3 separate regions of the Homo sapiens genome follow, and all the other regions are linked to region 1. Evidence: promoter capture Hi-C in human tissues and cell types (Jung and others, 2019). All regions are on one chromosome and are shown on one strand. Each heading gives the region's core, a stretch centred on a gene start or on the middle of the fragment in contact. The rest is flanking DNA. Distances are from core to core; before and after follow the strand shown. Region 1 holds the start of MST1R (macrophage stimulating 1 receptor). Region 2 holds the start of GNAT1 (G protein subunit alpha transducin 1). Region 3 has its middle 2.6 kb from the start of GNAI2.

Evidence for each region. Contacts are between HindIII fragments. The study calls those that stand out against the background at their distance.
Region 2: the fragment with the promoter of GNAT1 here is called in contact with the fragment with the promoter of MST1R in region 1 in 1 of the 25 tissues and cell types used here (adrenal gland).
Region 3: a fragment that was not itself captured here is called in contact with the fragment with the promoter of MST1R in region 1 in 1 of the 25 tissues and cell types used here (dorsolateral prefrontal cortex).

Annotation. Positions count from the first base shown.
Region 1 is chr3:49,901,467-49,906,251 of GRCh38, reverse strand. MST1R (macrophage stimulating 1 receptor) reads left to right here and starts at 2,379. Exons shown (of 20, transcript NM_002447.4): 1 at 2,379-3,872. The coding sequence starts at 2,643. RefSeq lists enhancers at 1-49, 1,334-2,006, 1,995-2,044, 2,681-3,354, 3,355-4,028 and 1 more and a silencer at 2,235-2,454. The HindIII fragment of the contact is 20,801 bases long and covers 1-4,785 here.
Region 2 is chr3:50,190,206-50,194,872 of GRCh38, reverse strand. GNAT1 (G protein subunit alpha transducin 1) reads right to left here and starts at 3,263. Exons shown (of 9, transcript NM_144499.3): 1 at 3,042-3,263; 2 at 1,698-1,740; 3 at 1,467-1,608; 4 at 1,210-1,367; 5 at 992-1,120; 6 at 652-781; 7 at 219-372; 8 at 1-108. The coding sequence starts at 3,147. RefSeq lists a silencer at 92-151 and enhancers at 1-473, 462-521, 474-990, 991-1,507. The HindIII fragment of the contact is 7,512 bases long and covers 1-4,667 here.
Region 3 is chr3:50,231,139-50,236,125 of GRCh38, reverse strand. It overlaps a transcript of GNAI2 not described here. Among named protein-coding and RNA genes, the nearest start is that of GNAI2, 2.6 kb to the left of the region's middle. RefSeq lists a silencer at 1-174 and enhancers at 44-654, 655-1,265. The HindIII fragment of the contact is 6,486 bases long and covers 240-4,987 here.

The DNA of each region.
Region 1 (4,785 bases), core at 1,130-3,629:
CCACGCCACGGTTTTCTCCGGGTGTTTATTCATTTCCTGGCCAATTCTGCTTTGGAAAAGGAGTGTCTTTTATGTCACCTCAGGGCACAGTATCAACCCTGCACTGGGTGTGGCCGCCCCCACTTCCATTTCCTCTTTCAGTCTTCAGGTGCTCATGGAGCTCCAGGCTGGAAGGAGGGGGAGTCCTGCACTGGGGATGGAGGAAGTGAAGTATCCAGAGTAAACTGTGCTGGGGTGAGTGTAGCACTGGGTCTGTGAGACCCAGGAGAGGGGACTGGCAAAGTCTGGATCAAAAAGGCTTCCTGGAGGAGGTGCCATTTAGGTGGCAAAAGGAGAAAAGGGAAAGAGTGCTCCTGGAAGGAGGAACAGCACTTACAAAGGTCAGGTTAGGAAGGGGATGCAGGCACAGAAGTATGAACTGAAAGGGGAGTGAGGAGATATAGCTCCCCAAGCCAGGCTAAATCCTGTTGGGCTGAGGGCTCCTCTCTCCCCCAGCCTCCTTATCTACAGCCTTGGGGCCCATAGTTCACAGCCCAGACCCACCCTGTGGACCTTCCCTGTCTTCTAGGGTCCAGGCCTATCTAACTGAGGGGTCTGTCAGGCTAAGGTTGTCCCCCAGGGGCCTCAGTCTAGTGTTGGGGGACCAGTTACCAAGGGGCAGCTGCTGAGATCCAAGTGTGGGACTAGGCTCCCCCACCCCCACTCCTCATAAACAGAAGAGAGAACTCTGGGAAATCACCTAGTCGGAACTACGTTTTCTTTTTCTTTTTTTGGAGATGGAGTCTCGCTCTGTCACCCAGGCTGGAGTGCAGTGGCACAATCTCAGCTCACTGCAACCTCCACCCCCTAAATTCAAGCTATTCTCCTGCCTCAGCCTCCCTAGTAGCTGGGATTACAGGCACCCACCACCACGCCCGGCTAATTTTTGTTTTTAGTGGAGATAGTTTCACCATGTTGGCCAGATCTGTCTGTTCACCATGTTGGTCTTGAACTCCTGACCTCAAGCGATCCACCCGCCTCGGCCTCCCAAAGTGCTGGGATTACAGGCGTGAGCCACCACGCCCGGTCACATATTTTATTTTAAAAACATTTTTAGCAGTTTTTTTGTTTTGTTGAGTTTTGTTATGTTGCCCAGGCTGGTCTTGAACTCCTAACCTCAAGCAATCCTCCTGCCTTGGCCCCTCAAAGGAGTGCTAGGATTACAGGCATGAGCCACGGTGCCCAGCCCAGAACTACATTCTCATTGAAGAGAATAAGATCCAGCAAGGCCTACAGAGCATGTTGGAAGTGTCCTGAGAGCCAAAGCCCATGATTCCTCCATATCAGGGGGGCACTGGGTAGAGCCAGGAAGGAAGGGGGAGTCCCCAAGGCCCATACTGTGGACCCCATTATACAGCTTCCATATACTGAGGCTGCAGAGGAGGTATGGGCCTCCACTTACGTGCCTCTCTGACTCTGAGGTCCAGTCAGCAAGGCCAGATCCCATCCTAAGACCCTTATGGCCCTGGGAGAGCAGGGCATAACACACCTTCCTCTGACACCATCTTGTCGCTGATAGCTCAGGAGAAGCACATGGAAGAATGGTCCCGGCCGGGCGCGGTGGCTTACGCCTGTAATCCCAACAGTTTGGGAGGCTGAGGCGGGCGGATCACCTGAGGTCAGGAGTTTGAGACCAGCCTGGCCAACACTGTGAATCCTGTCTCTACTAAAAATACAAAATTAGCCGGGTGTGGTGGTGCGCGCCTGTAATCCCAGCTATTCAGGAGGTTGAGACAGGAGGAGGTTGAGGCTGGAGAATCGCTTGAACCTGGGAGGCGGAGTTTGCAGTGAGCCGAGATCGCGCCACTGCAATCCAGCTTGGGCCACAGAGCAAGACTCCTTCTCAAAAAAAAAAAAGGACAGTCCTTTCCCACAAAGGGTGGCGCCCCATAACATCTCTTGTAAGTGCCCCACATCTCCCCTCTGGTCTTCCACACAATCCTGGTCTCTGTTCTCCACATGGTGGGCCCCCAGGCCACCTCTGGGCACCAGCCACTGAGGGTGTTGCTACTAAGTGCAAACTAGTTCCACCGCAAGCAAAGAGCCCAGTGTCCTGCCCCCCTTCTCGCTGCGAACCAGTCGGTAGTGGGGGGATGGGATGGGACGGCTCAGACTGGCTCACCTCTCTCCAGGCCACACCATGCACATCCACCCACAGGCCGCTGAGAAAAAGGCGCCAAGACGCCAGGTGAAGGTACAGGAGCCAGGCCTCCAAGGGCCGGAAGAGTCGGATGGGCGGAGGGCCTGGGCTAGGCCAAGCCTTCCTCGCGGCCCCGCCCCCACGGCCCGACTCCGCCCGCCCAGCCCGGCGCCCTCGGGTCGGCTGAGCGCTAAGCGCCAGTGTACAGCGGCGGCTGGGGCGGCAGGTGAGGCGGCTGGGGCGTTGCTGTCGTGCGTCCGCAGGCGTCAGGTGCTCAGACCCGAGGGCCGGGAAGGGATTTGGGTTTCACAGGAACCTGGGGCGGGGGTCCGCTATCTTGGGGCTGTCGGGACCGCTGCTTAAATTTGGCCCAGTCCAGACCTCGAGTCGGGCCCCCAGCCAGGCCCACGCCCAGGTCCAGGCCCAGGCCGGTAGGGATCCTCTAGGGTCCCAGCTCGCCTCGATGGAGCTCCTCCCGCCGCTGCCTCAGTCCTTCCTGTTGCTGCTGCTGTTGCCTGCCAAGCCCGCGGCGGGCGAGGACTGGCAGTGCCCGCGCACCCCCTACGCGGCCTCTCGCGACTTTGACGTGAAGTACGTGGTGCCCAGCTTCTCCGCCGGAGGCCTGGTACAGGCCATGGTGACCTACGAGGGCGACAGAAATGAGAGTGCTGTGTTTGTAGCCATACGCAATCGCCTGCATGTGCTTGGGCCTGACCTGAAGTCTGTCCAGAGCCTGGCCACGGGCCCTGCTGGAGACCCTGGCTGCCAGACGTGTGCAGCCTGTGGCCCAGGACCCCACGGCCCTCCCGGTGACACAGACACAAAGGTGCTGGTGCTGGATCCCGCGCTGCCTGCGCTGGTCAGTTGTGGCTCCAGCCTGCAGGGCCGCTGCTTCCTGCATGACCTAGAGCCCCAAGGGACAGCCGTGCATCTGGCAGCGCCAGCCTGCCTCTTCTCAGCCCACCATAACCGGCCCGATGACTGCCCCGACTGTGTGGCCAGCCCATTGGGCACCCGTGTAACTGTGGTTGAGCAAGGCCAGGCCTCCTATTTCTACGTGGCATCCTCACTGGACGCAGCCGTGGCTGCCAGCTTCAGCCCACGCTCAGTGTCTATCAGGCGTCTCAAGGCTGACGCCTCGGGATTCGCACCGGGCTTTGTGGCGTTGTCAGTGCTGCCCAAGCATCTTGTCTCCTACAGTATTGAATACGTGCACAGCTTCCACACGGGAGCCTTCGTATACTTCCTGACTGTACAGCCGGCCAGCGTGACAGATGATCCTAGTGCCCTGCACACACGCCTGGCACGGCTTAGCGCCACTGAGCCAGAGTTGGGTGACTATCGGGAGCTGGTCCTCGACTGCAGATTTGCTCCAAAACGCAGGCGCCGGGGGGCCCCAGAAGGCGGACAGCCCTACCCTGTGCTGCGGGTGGCCCACTCCGCTCCAGTGGGTGCCCAACTTGCCACTGAGCTGAGCATCGCCGAGGGCCAGGAAGTACTATTTGGGGTCTTTGTGACTGGCAAGGATGGTGGTCCTGGCGTGGGCCCCAACTCTGTCGTCTGTGCCTTCCCCATTGACCTGCTGGACACACTAATTGATGAGGGTGTGGAGCGCTGTTGTGAATCCCCAGTCCATCCAGGCCTCCGGCGAGGCCTCGACTTCTTCCAGTCGCCCAGTTTTTGCCCCAACCCGGTAAGCTGAAAGAAGGGGCCCTTACTTGTGAGCTGCATGCACATGGCTGAACACAGGCTGCTTCCCTTCCATCACTGAGGGGATCTGGGGGCGCGGTGGGGGGGCAGGCGGAAAGAAGCATTCTCTCTCACCCAGTTCCTAAGTGCTGGGGTGGTGTGAGAAACCAGCCAGACAAAGGCTACACTGGAGGCTTAGCTCCCAGGCTGGCCCTTGTGGCTGCCTCATCTTGCTCTTTCCCCTACCTGCCCATCATGGCCTCTGGTTTTTTAGGTAGTTTCCCTGGCTATGTGAGGATAGGGTTACATAACCGTGTCTCTGTTAGCATAGCTCCTGAATGCTGGGTAGAATGATGGGCATTCCCTCCTACTTGTCCACCACCCATATCCTCAGGGACACACGCAGAAAAATAGCACTCCCCCCTCCCCTCCCCCACCCCCGCCACCACCACCACCACCACGCACAAATACACAGGGAGATGCTCACAGATTCACAGACTCACAGCTGCTTGCCAACAGTTTCACTTTCCCTTGTTTTGCTCTGCTTTCCAAAGGGGGTGGGACGGGAGTTGTCAGAGAATCTCCCCTTCCTCCACACCCCCTCCCCCCACCCACCCCCATCCTTCTGCCAGCCACCACGTTCCAGGGAGCCTCCTGGGCCTTGGAAGTTGGGAGCTTGTTAGGGAGCCTGCATGTCCTGGGCTTCACTAACGTTTTTGCCATGATTGGGGGTGATTGGGGGAGTACCCAGAACTCATGGAATGGCAGCTTGGTTCTAGAAGGTTCTGGGAGCCTCACTCTAGTCTTGTGCAAGCAACTATAAACATCTGGGGATAAGTAAAGGCCTAGGAAGGGCTGGTTGGAATTGGTCCATCCCAGACTTTTTTTTTTAACTGTATTTGGAGCCCTACCCCAGG
Region 2 (4,667 bases), core at 2,014-4,513, 290 kb before region 1:
CGGTGGCGCACGTCATGTGGGAATAGATCTCCTTCACGTCGCGCCGCATGTTGAGCTCGAGGAACTGCACCTTGATGTAGTTGCCGGCGTCCTCGTAGGTGTTGGGTCCTGCGGGGGCGGGAGCTCTCACTCTGCTCAGCCCTTCCTTCCCCGTGCGGGGGGTGCGCGCCGCGATCGTGGGGCGGGGGCGCCGCCTGGCGGCCTTGCGGACTTCTCACCATCGTAGTCCGGGAAACAGATGCTGAGGTGCGCCTTCTTGATCTTCTCGAAGAAGACGTCCTTCTTGTTAAGGAAGAGCACGATGGACGTCGTGGCGAAGTAGCGGTGGTTGCAGATGCTGTTGAACAGGTGCAGGCTCTCGTGCATGCGGTTCTGAGGAGGGCAGCAGCTGTTGGGCACCCGGGGTAGCGTCCGACCCGCAGCACCTGCTCTCTGGGCTCCCGGGCACGCGGGGCTTCCCGCTCAGCTGGCTCTCAGAGGGCTCCCCGCACTGCCCCAGATGGGCCTGCTGAACGCCTCCGGGCCTCCTCAGGCCGCCCGGGACAGGCATCCCCTCCCGTGCCCTCCCCCAGCCCAGCGCGCGGTCTCCGCCTCCAGGGACCAGCAGCTCCTCCTCGCCCCCCTGGAACACAGGCCCTGCCTGGCACGCACCACTTCGTCGTCCTCCACTAGCACCATGTCGTAGGCGCTCAGCGCCGCGATGAAGATGATGCAGGTCACGCCCTCGAAGCAGTGGATCCACTTCTTGCGCTCCGAGCGCTGCCCGCCCACATCGAACATCCTGCGGGGCCGCGGGGGCCTGAACCTGCGCCCCGGGCCCCACAGGCAACATCCCTTCGCCCTGTGCTGGTCGGGGAGCTCTCGGCCGGGACTACCACCCTTTCTGCTGGCGGGGTATCAGGGAAGGGGCAGGGTCTATCGCAGGGATGGGGTCCCCGGGGCAGGACGGGGCCTGGGGCAGTGACCTCCTGGGCTAGCGTATGGGTCGTACCGGAAGTTGAGATCCTTGAAGGAGAACTGCGTCTCGATGATGCCAGTGGTCTTGACTCGCGAGCGCAGCACGTCCTGCTCGGTGGGCACGTAGCCCGGGGTTACCAGGCGCTCCAGGTCGGAGAGGTAGCTGCGCGAGACCCGGCCGTAGGTGGGTGGGGAGGCGTGGAGGGCCCCCTGCGCCCCGCGCCCCGCGCCCCGCGCTGCCCGCGCGCTCACTAGCCCGCCGAGTCGTTGAGCTGGTACTCCGAGGCGCGCTCAAAACAGGCCTGGATACCGGAGTCCTTCCACAGCCGCTGGATGATGTCCGACATCTCCTTGGGCATCGTGCCCTCCTCGATAGTGTCTGCCATGTGCATCAGCTTCCGGGCGTCGTCCTGGGGGCAGGGTGAGAGTGGCTGGTGGCGGCCAGGGACTCGGGCCCAGCCGCGAGCCTCGAGTCCCCAGAGGCCCGCTCAGCCCGCCTCCTGGCACACCTGGCGTGCAGAGTCTCCGTACTGGATGTTGAGTGTGGTCATGGCGCGTACGATGGCCAGGATGGACTGCAACGTGTTGCCGTAGATGATGGCGATAAACTCGAGGCACTCTTCCAGCGAGTACCCGTCCTGGTGGATAATCCTGAGGCCGAGGAGAGCAGAATCAGCGCCTCGTGGGGAAGTGGGGAAGGACCCAGACCCAGGGGCCTCGGGACAGGCAGGGGCACTCACTTCATCTGCTTGACGATGGTGCTCTTCCCGGACTCACCGGCACCTGAAAGAGACGCGGCGCCTCAGAGCTGCGCTGACCAGCCTGCCCCCTCCAGCAAGGAGGCCAGGAGGACGGGGACCTCCCGAGTTGGCAGGGTGGACCCGCAGCGAAGAGGCCTGAGCGCCAGCCCCGACCCCGTAGCCACACCTACCCCCCCATCCAAATTAAGTCCTGACATCCTGAAGTCACAAGGTTTGCAAATGCCAGGAAAGTGAAGAAAGGAAGCCAACGAGGGGACTCAACGACCTCAACTGTTCTGGGACAGGGGAGTCCCCAAGACCCCGGCACAGGCAGCCTTTATTATGCTGTGAGACTGCAATGAAGAAATCCCGGAGCGTCATCGCCACCTCGTGGGAGCCTCTGGTACCGCAAGCACTGGGTTATTTGAGGCGGGTAAACCCCTTGCATTTCACCTGAAGGGGTGCAGGTGTCTCCAGGAGGCTCAGAGGGAATTAGCTCTTTTGGGTAGGAGGGAGGGCAGAGTTGACATCCTTTCTGAGCTTGCCCCTGCGAGGGCGTTGGGCACAGTTAATGAGATTTCCGGCTTAGCCTCTCTGCCTTGGGGGAAAGTGGGACTGGCTTGGTCCCTCACCCACCTCCAGCTGGTTGACCAGACCCTGGGGAGCTTGGGTGGAGCCCCTCTTGAAGCTGCTTTTTCCCCTTGAGAGGTCAGGCAGTGACCTTGAGGCAGGCCTGGATCAGCCCCATCTCTCCTCAGTGCCCATGGTCCAGTGGACGCGGCTTTATCTACTCCCACTGGGCCTCAGTACCCGCCAGCCCCTCTGGCTGCTTTGTAGGTCTATCAGCCACAGCCCTCTGGCACCTGAGGGCCATTCGTTGTGGATCTGGGTGGTCCTAGAGGCTCCCCACTCCCAGGAGGACTATGGCCATCCCCTTCCCAAAGTAGCAGCCCAATAACGGGCTCCCAGTGAGGCTCCTGGCTTCTGAGCATTGCCTAGCAGGCGTATCAAACCAAAGGCTGCATGAAGCTTGCGGGAACCCAGCCACGGAAAAGTCGGCATCACACACCCGTGCAAGAGTGTGGTTGGCACGCACTTCTGGGGAGGGTGGGTCACCTGAGGCAGAGCCGTCTGGAGAGGGGCTTTGTGGGATGTCCAGCCCTGGGGGACTAGGACACCACCTGTCAGGCCTGGCCTTGCTTGGCCAGGGCTCCCACCCTGTGCCCTACTCTGTCACAGGCTCATACTGCTTCCCAGGGAATCCTTGCTTCACAGAAGGGCTGCCTGCCTGCCTCCAGACCAATGACCTGGTGGCAGTGGCCCCACCTGGGCCCACACCCCTACCCAGAAGCAGCAGCTTCACGGTTCGAGCATCCTTCTCAGCGTCCTCTTTCAGCTTCTTTTCCAGCTCCCTGGAGTGCTTCTCCTCAGCACTGGCCCCAGCCCCCATGGTCCCAGCAGCAGGCGAAGGGACAGAGTGAGCAGGTGGTTCTTCTGGATGGAGGGGATCCCCAGAACCTGGCCTCCCAGGCACCCTTCTGGCCCCAGGAGGACCTGCAATCAACTGGCTCTCTACGGACCTGTGCAATCCCTGGTGGGGCTGCTTAGTGGGATTTGGGGGCTAGGGGTGTCCAAGAGCCAATCAGAGACAAGGACAGGTGAATCCAGCTCAGCCCCCCCAACCCTTCTAATCGGGCTGGCATAGCCCCAATCCCTCAACCGCTGACTCTGCACTCCGGCTGTCCTTCTGTCCCCGCAACCCTCCAGGAGAGGCCCTGGCACTGCCTGGGAGTGGGGAGACATGTTCAGTAGGGTCAGGGCTGAGAAAGGGGAAGGCAGAACCTTGAGCCCTGGGGGTGAGGACAATGGAGGTGGGGCTGGCAGTGAGAGGGCATAATTGGGAGAAACATGCCTGCTGCCTGCCCGGCACCAGGCTCAGCACCACTCCTTATCTTGTTGTAAGCTCACACTGGCCCTGGAGTATGGATGCCCATATCATCAGCCTCATTTTACTGATGAGGAAGTAAAGGCTGAAAGGGTCACACAGTAGGAAGTGGTTAAGAAGGGCTGGTGACTCTGGACTGGGATTTTATGACCTGCAGGGAATCCAGAGAGAGGGAAACAGTGGGCATTGCATTCATCCCATATCACAGGCTGGAGCTGCCCCAAGGAGGTCCTCTGCTTCCAGCGGACTGTGGTGGGCATGCATATCTGCTCTGTGTGCCTCGGTGTATGTGTCTTTTTTTTTTTTTTTTCTGAGATGGAGTCTCGCTCTGTTGCTCAGGCTGGAGTGCAGTGGCGCAATCTCAGCTCACTGCAAGCTCCACCTCCCAGGTTCACGCCATTCTCCTGCCTCAGCCTCCTGAGTAGCTGGGACAACAGGTGCCCGCCACTACGTCGGGCTACTTTTTTTGTATTTTAGTAAAGACAGGGTTTCACCGTGTTAGCCAGGATGGTCTCAGTCTCCTGACCTCGTGATCTGCCCGCCTCGGCCTCCCAAAGTGCTGGGATTACAGGCATGAGCCACCGTGCCTGGCCTTTTTTTTTTTTTTTTTTTTTTTTTTTTGAGACAGAGTTTCACTCTGTTGCCAGGCTTGAGTGCTGTGACACGATCTTGGCTCACTGCAACCTTCAACTCCCTGGTTTAAGCTTCTCCCACCTCAGCCTCCCAAGTAGCTGGGATTACGGGCATGTGCCACCATACCCAGCTAATTTTTTGTGTATTTTTAGTAGAGACGGGGTTTCACCATGTTGGTCAGGATGGTCTCGATCTCCTGACCTTGTGATCCACCCACCTCGGCCTCCCAAAGTGCTGGGATTCAGGTGTGAGCCACCTCGCCCGGCCATGGGTGTGTCTTTTGCTGGCACCAAGCGAGCAATAACTTGACACATTTGTGCATGAATACCTGTGTGTACATGTGTGCCTGCATGTTTATGCCTTTGTGAGTGCATGTGCTCTTATAGGAATCA
Region 3 (4,987 bases), core at 2,233-4,732, 330 kb before region 1:
ACTGGGCCGGGGCGGGCTTGCAGGCGGGGCCAGAGGAGATTAGAGGCTGTTGATTGGCTCGAGGGCGGAGCGAAGGGGGAAGTTAGGCGCAGCCCAGGCTCGGGCCTGGGCTGCAGGCGGGGCCACGCGGAGAAAAGGCAATAGGGGTGGTTCCAAACCCCGGGACCCGGCACTGGGCGGGCTGCAGGCGGGACCGGGCTGTGATTGGGTGCGGAGCGCCGGGAGCTCTGTTGCTGGACAGCCGGGAGGGCGGATCTGTTAACCCGAGGGTGGGGATCCGGTGCCCTCGAGGGCAGAGCAGGAACCAGCCCTCTGAGCTTCTGCGAGTTGGGCGAGTTAGGTGGAGGAGGCGTGTCTTTGTCATTTGTTAAAGTTAATGAGTCCAGTAAACTTGTTTTGGGATCTACGAACTCGGGAGCCTTTCTGGACTGCGGTTTTCTCAGTCTTAAGGCGGGTTTACCGCCTTCTCCCTCTGGGTTGCAGCTAGTCGAAAAAGGAAAAAAAAAGGCCGGGCGCAGTGGCTCACGCCAGTAATCCCAGCACTTTAGGAGGCCGAGGCGGGCAGATCACTTGAGGTCAGGAGTTCTAGACCAGCCTGGCCAACATGGTGAAACCCCATCTCTACTAAAAATACAAAAATTACCCGGGCGTGGTCGTGGGCGCCTGTAATCCCACCTGCTCAGGAGGCTGAGGCGGGAGAACTGCTTCAACCCGGGTGGCGGAGGTTGCAGTGAGCCGAGATCGCGCCATTCATTGCACTCCAGCTTGGGCGACAGAGCAAGACTCCGTCTCAAAAAAAAAAAAAAAAATTGGTTTCCATCTTTACACCTTTGCCTAGGCTGTCTCCTTTAGCTGGGTGGCTTCTCATATCCATCCTTCCCCAATCTACCGGGAGGCATTCTTCGGCAGGCAGCCATCCTGGACTCCAATCTGGGACCAGGCAATCAGGACCCAAGGGAGAAAGGGAGAGAGGATGAGAGGGTGGAGAGGGAGGAAGAGAGGAGGGCGGGCAGGCAGGGTGAGGGGGTTGGGAGGGAAGAAAGAGGAAGAAGTTGCCACTGGACTTCTAGAAACAAAAGTGGCCATGATCTTATGACCTGTCTCTTCCATGGCCTGTCCACGTCTGGAGGTGGCCATGATCCCACATCCCACCCTCCTGTGGCCTGTCCCCACTGGGCAATGGCTGCAACCCTATGGCCAGGCAAAGGTGGGGTGGAAGCAGCAGTGTTTCTAGCTGAACATTTCAAGTCTTTCTGATCCTGTGCTCCAGGAGCAGCCCAGAGCCCCACCCTCGATTGGACATTTGAAGGGTCTGCCAAAAATTAACCACGAAGGCATTTTGTGTGACCCCAGTGCCATGAGGCTAGGAGGCCCCAGCCCAAAGGGAAGGCCCCTGAAGCAAGACAGGGTGCTTGCCACCAACAGCCCGGTGTTTAGCATAAACCCCTTCCTTAGAACCTTGGTACACATTTTGGCTGGGCATGGTTGCTCATGCCTATAATCCCAGCAACTCTGGGAGGCTGAAGCAGGCAGATCTCTTGAGGTCAGGAGTTCGAGACCAGCCTGACCAACATGGAGAAACCCTGTCTCTACTAAAATACAAAAAATTAGCGGGGTGTGGTGGTGGGCACATGTAATCCCAGCTACTTGGGAGACTGAGGCAGGAGAATCACTTGAACCCAGGAGGCGGAGGTTGCAGTGAGCTGAGATCATGCCATTGCACTCTAGCCTGGGCAAGAGTGAAACTCCATTTCAAAAAAAAAAAAAAAGACCGGGCACGGTGGCTCACGCCTGTAATCCCAGTACTGGGAGGCCGAGGCGGCAGATCACGAGGTCAGGAGATGGAGACCATCCTGGCTAACACGGTGTATTTTGTACTAAAAATACAAAAAATTAGCCGGCGTGGTGGCGGGCGCCTGTAGTACCAGCTACTCAGGAGGCTGAGGCAGGAGAATGGTGTGAACCCAGGAGGCGGAGCTTGCAGTGAGCTGAGATTCTGTCTCTGCACTCCACCCTGGGTGACAGAGCAAGACTCCGTCTCAAAAAAAAAAAAAAAAAAAAAATCAGCTGGGCGTGGTGGCACGTGCCTGTAATCCTGGTTACTCAGGAGGCTGAAACAGGAGAATCACTTGAACCTGGGAACTGGAGATTGCAGTGAGCTGAGATCACACCACTGCACTCTACCCTGGGCAACAGAGCAGGACTCCGTCTCAAAAAAAAAAAAAAAAAAAAAGAACCTTGTTACACATTTTGTTCCAGCTCCCAATCCCCAGGCTGGCTGTTCTCCCTGGAGTGTCTGCATATCCCTATCTGAATGTCTCTCTTGTTGAGGGGTCATTGGCCTGGAAGTCCTCCAATGACTCCCTCAGGCCCCCCTCCTGTCCTGAGACATAGGATATGATGTCCCATGTCCACCACTGCTCTGAAGCTCAAGCAGGCCCTGCCATGGGCATGCAACATGTTGAGGACACATAATGTCCACCAGGGCCACAGATATGCTGTAGACACCCACACATAGGTCAGTCTCCAACATGCCTCAGATCCACAGAACACACTCTACAAAAATGGGTACACATGGCCAAGAATACAATCTGTCCACGCACAGACTACAAACTGGCTTCCAAGGTGGGACCCTCCCCTTCCCTCTACCTGTCACCCTGCCCCAGGCTTGAGAGCTGATCCTCGCTCCTCTGGCCTCTCTAGCCTGCTCCTAGCAACAGCCAACAGCTCTCACAGTTGCCAGGCAACAGGGAGAACCTGTCAGCCCCTTGGAGGCCCAGCTCTCAGTAGGTGGGCGCAACACAGACCCCAATCTATGGAGGCAGGGCAAGATGGGGCTACTGGAAGGCATGGCCTTCCCCAGCCCCAGGCCAGGTCCTGTGGTTATGGCACCCTTCCCGCCAGTCAGCTGCTCCTTTCCAGTCCTATGCTCTTCCCAGGGAGTCCAGCAACCCTTGCTTCCACCCTGCTAGCTGCTCCTTCTCCATCTCCATGGGGTCCCCAGGGCTATGGCCAGGCCTCTGCTTGCCACTCCACTCATACACCTCCCACTCTGGGGGCTCAGAACCCCACAAGGTCCTCTCCAGCCTGACTTCTTTGATTGCCAGCCCCATGTCCACCACTGCTCTGAAGCCTCCCCGAGACACCCAGGCACCTCAAATCCACACTGTCCAGAACTGGGTACATCCCATCCCACTGGCCCCTGTTCCCAGGCTCTCCACCACTTCATGATCCCCCCACCAGCCACAGCAATGACCCCCTCCCCTACCCCTATATGCCATCAGCCTCTTCCCTACCTCAATTTCCCCTCCAATCTGTATTTGTTCTCTGTCCCCACTATCTCCCAGCCTAGGATTCTAACGTCTTCCTTGGCTCTCCTGTTTCCCTACAATTTATCCTCCACATGGCAGCCAAGGGCATCCTACTGAAAGAAATCACATCACCCCCTTGCTCGGAAACTTTCTGTGGTTCCCCAATGCCCTGAGAATAGATGAAGCCCCCACACACACTGGTTTGGACTCTGCAGCAGTTGGAGGCTGTAGGCTGGCAGTTGGAAGCAAAGACTCTGAGGAGCAGTTTGCAAACTTGCCAGCTACTTGTTACTTTGGACAAGTACCAGAAACTCCCTGTACCTCGGTTTTCTTATCAGTAAAATGGGCCTAACGGTTATACATACCCAAAGCACAGGCAGAGGTCAGGACTCCAGGAGGAAACATGTAAAACATGCAGAATGTGCATGGCACATAGAAAGCCCTCAATAAGGGTGAGGTGTTATAGTAGTGATTTCTTTTTTTTTGAGACTGAGTCTGACTCTATCACCCAAGCTGGAGCGCAGTGGCATGATCTTGGCTCACTGCAACCTCCGCCTCCTGGGTTCAAGTGATTCTTGTGCCTCAGCTCCCCAAGTAGCTGGGATTACAGGCGCCTGCCACCACACCCGGCTAATTTTTGTATTTTTAGTAGAGATGGGGTTTTGCCATGTTGGCCAGGCTGGTCTCAAACTCCTGACCTCAGATGATCTGCCTGCCTCGGCCTCCCAAAGTGCTGGATTGCAGGTGTGAGCCACCGTGCACGGCCCTTTTTTTTTTTTTAATAGAGATGAAGTCTCACCATGTTGTCCAGGCTGGTCTCAAACTCCTGGGCTCAGGCAATCCTCCCGTCTTGGCCTCCCAAAGTGCTGGGATTACAGGCATGAACCACTGTGCCTGGCCCAATAGTAGCGATTTCTGTAAGGCTTTATGATTGTCCCCACTCAAGGGTCCACCTCATGTCCCTCCACTTGCAACACACTGGCACTCCAACCATCTGGCTTGCCTTGCTCTCTCCATCCCTCGATCTTCCCTCCCATCCCCCTACCCTGTTAAATTAATCCCTCCTCCCCACCTTTCATTCCCTGGCTGTGAGCTGGGCTTCTCTGAGTCCCATTGTCCTCGGGCTTCCCCTTCCCCAGCCAGATCCCACTATTCTGGTCGTGGGTCTCTCCCACTCATATCCCTAATTCCAGGCCCCTTGCAGGGTGGCAGGTAAATATGTATCAACTTAAATGAATAAGGCCGGGTGCGGTGGCTCGAGCCTGTAATCCCAGCACTTTGGAAGGCTGAGGTGGGCAGATCATGAGGTCAAGAGATCGACTATCCTGGCCAACATGGTGAAACCCCATCTCTACTAAAAATACAAAAATTAGCTGGGCGTGGCAGCGCATGCCTGTAATCCCGGCTACTTGCGAGGCTGAGGCAGGACAATCGCTTGAACCCAAGAGGCAGAGGTTGCAGTGAGCTGAGATCGCACCATTGCCCTCCAGCCCGGCAACAGAGGTAGACTCTGTCTCAAAATCAATCAATCAATCCATCAATCAATCTCTTCATCCTGGAGCTGGGAGCTGCTGCCCCTCTGGAAATATTCATGTAGTTGTATACGCAGAGAAAAGAGAAACCAATAGTGCCTGGGAAGGTCAGGAAGCTTTCTTTGAGGAGGTGATGCAGGGAGT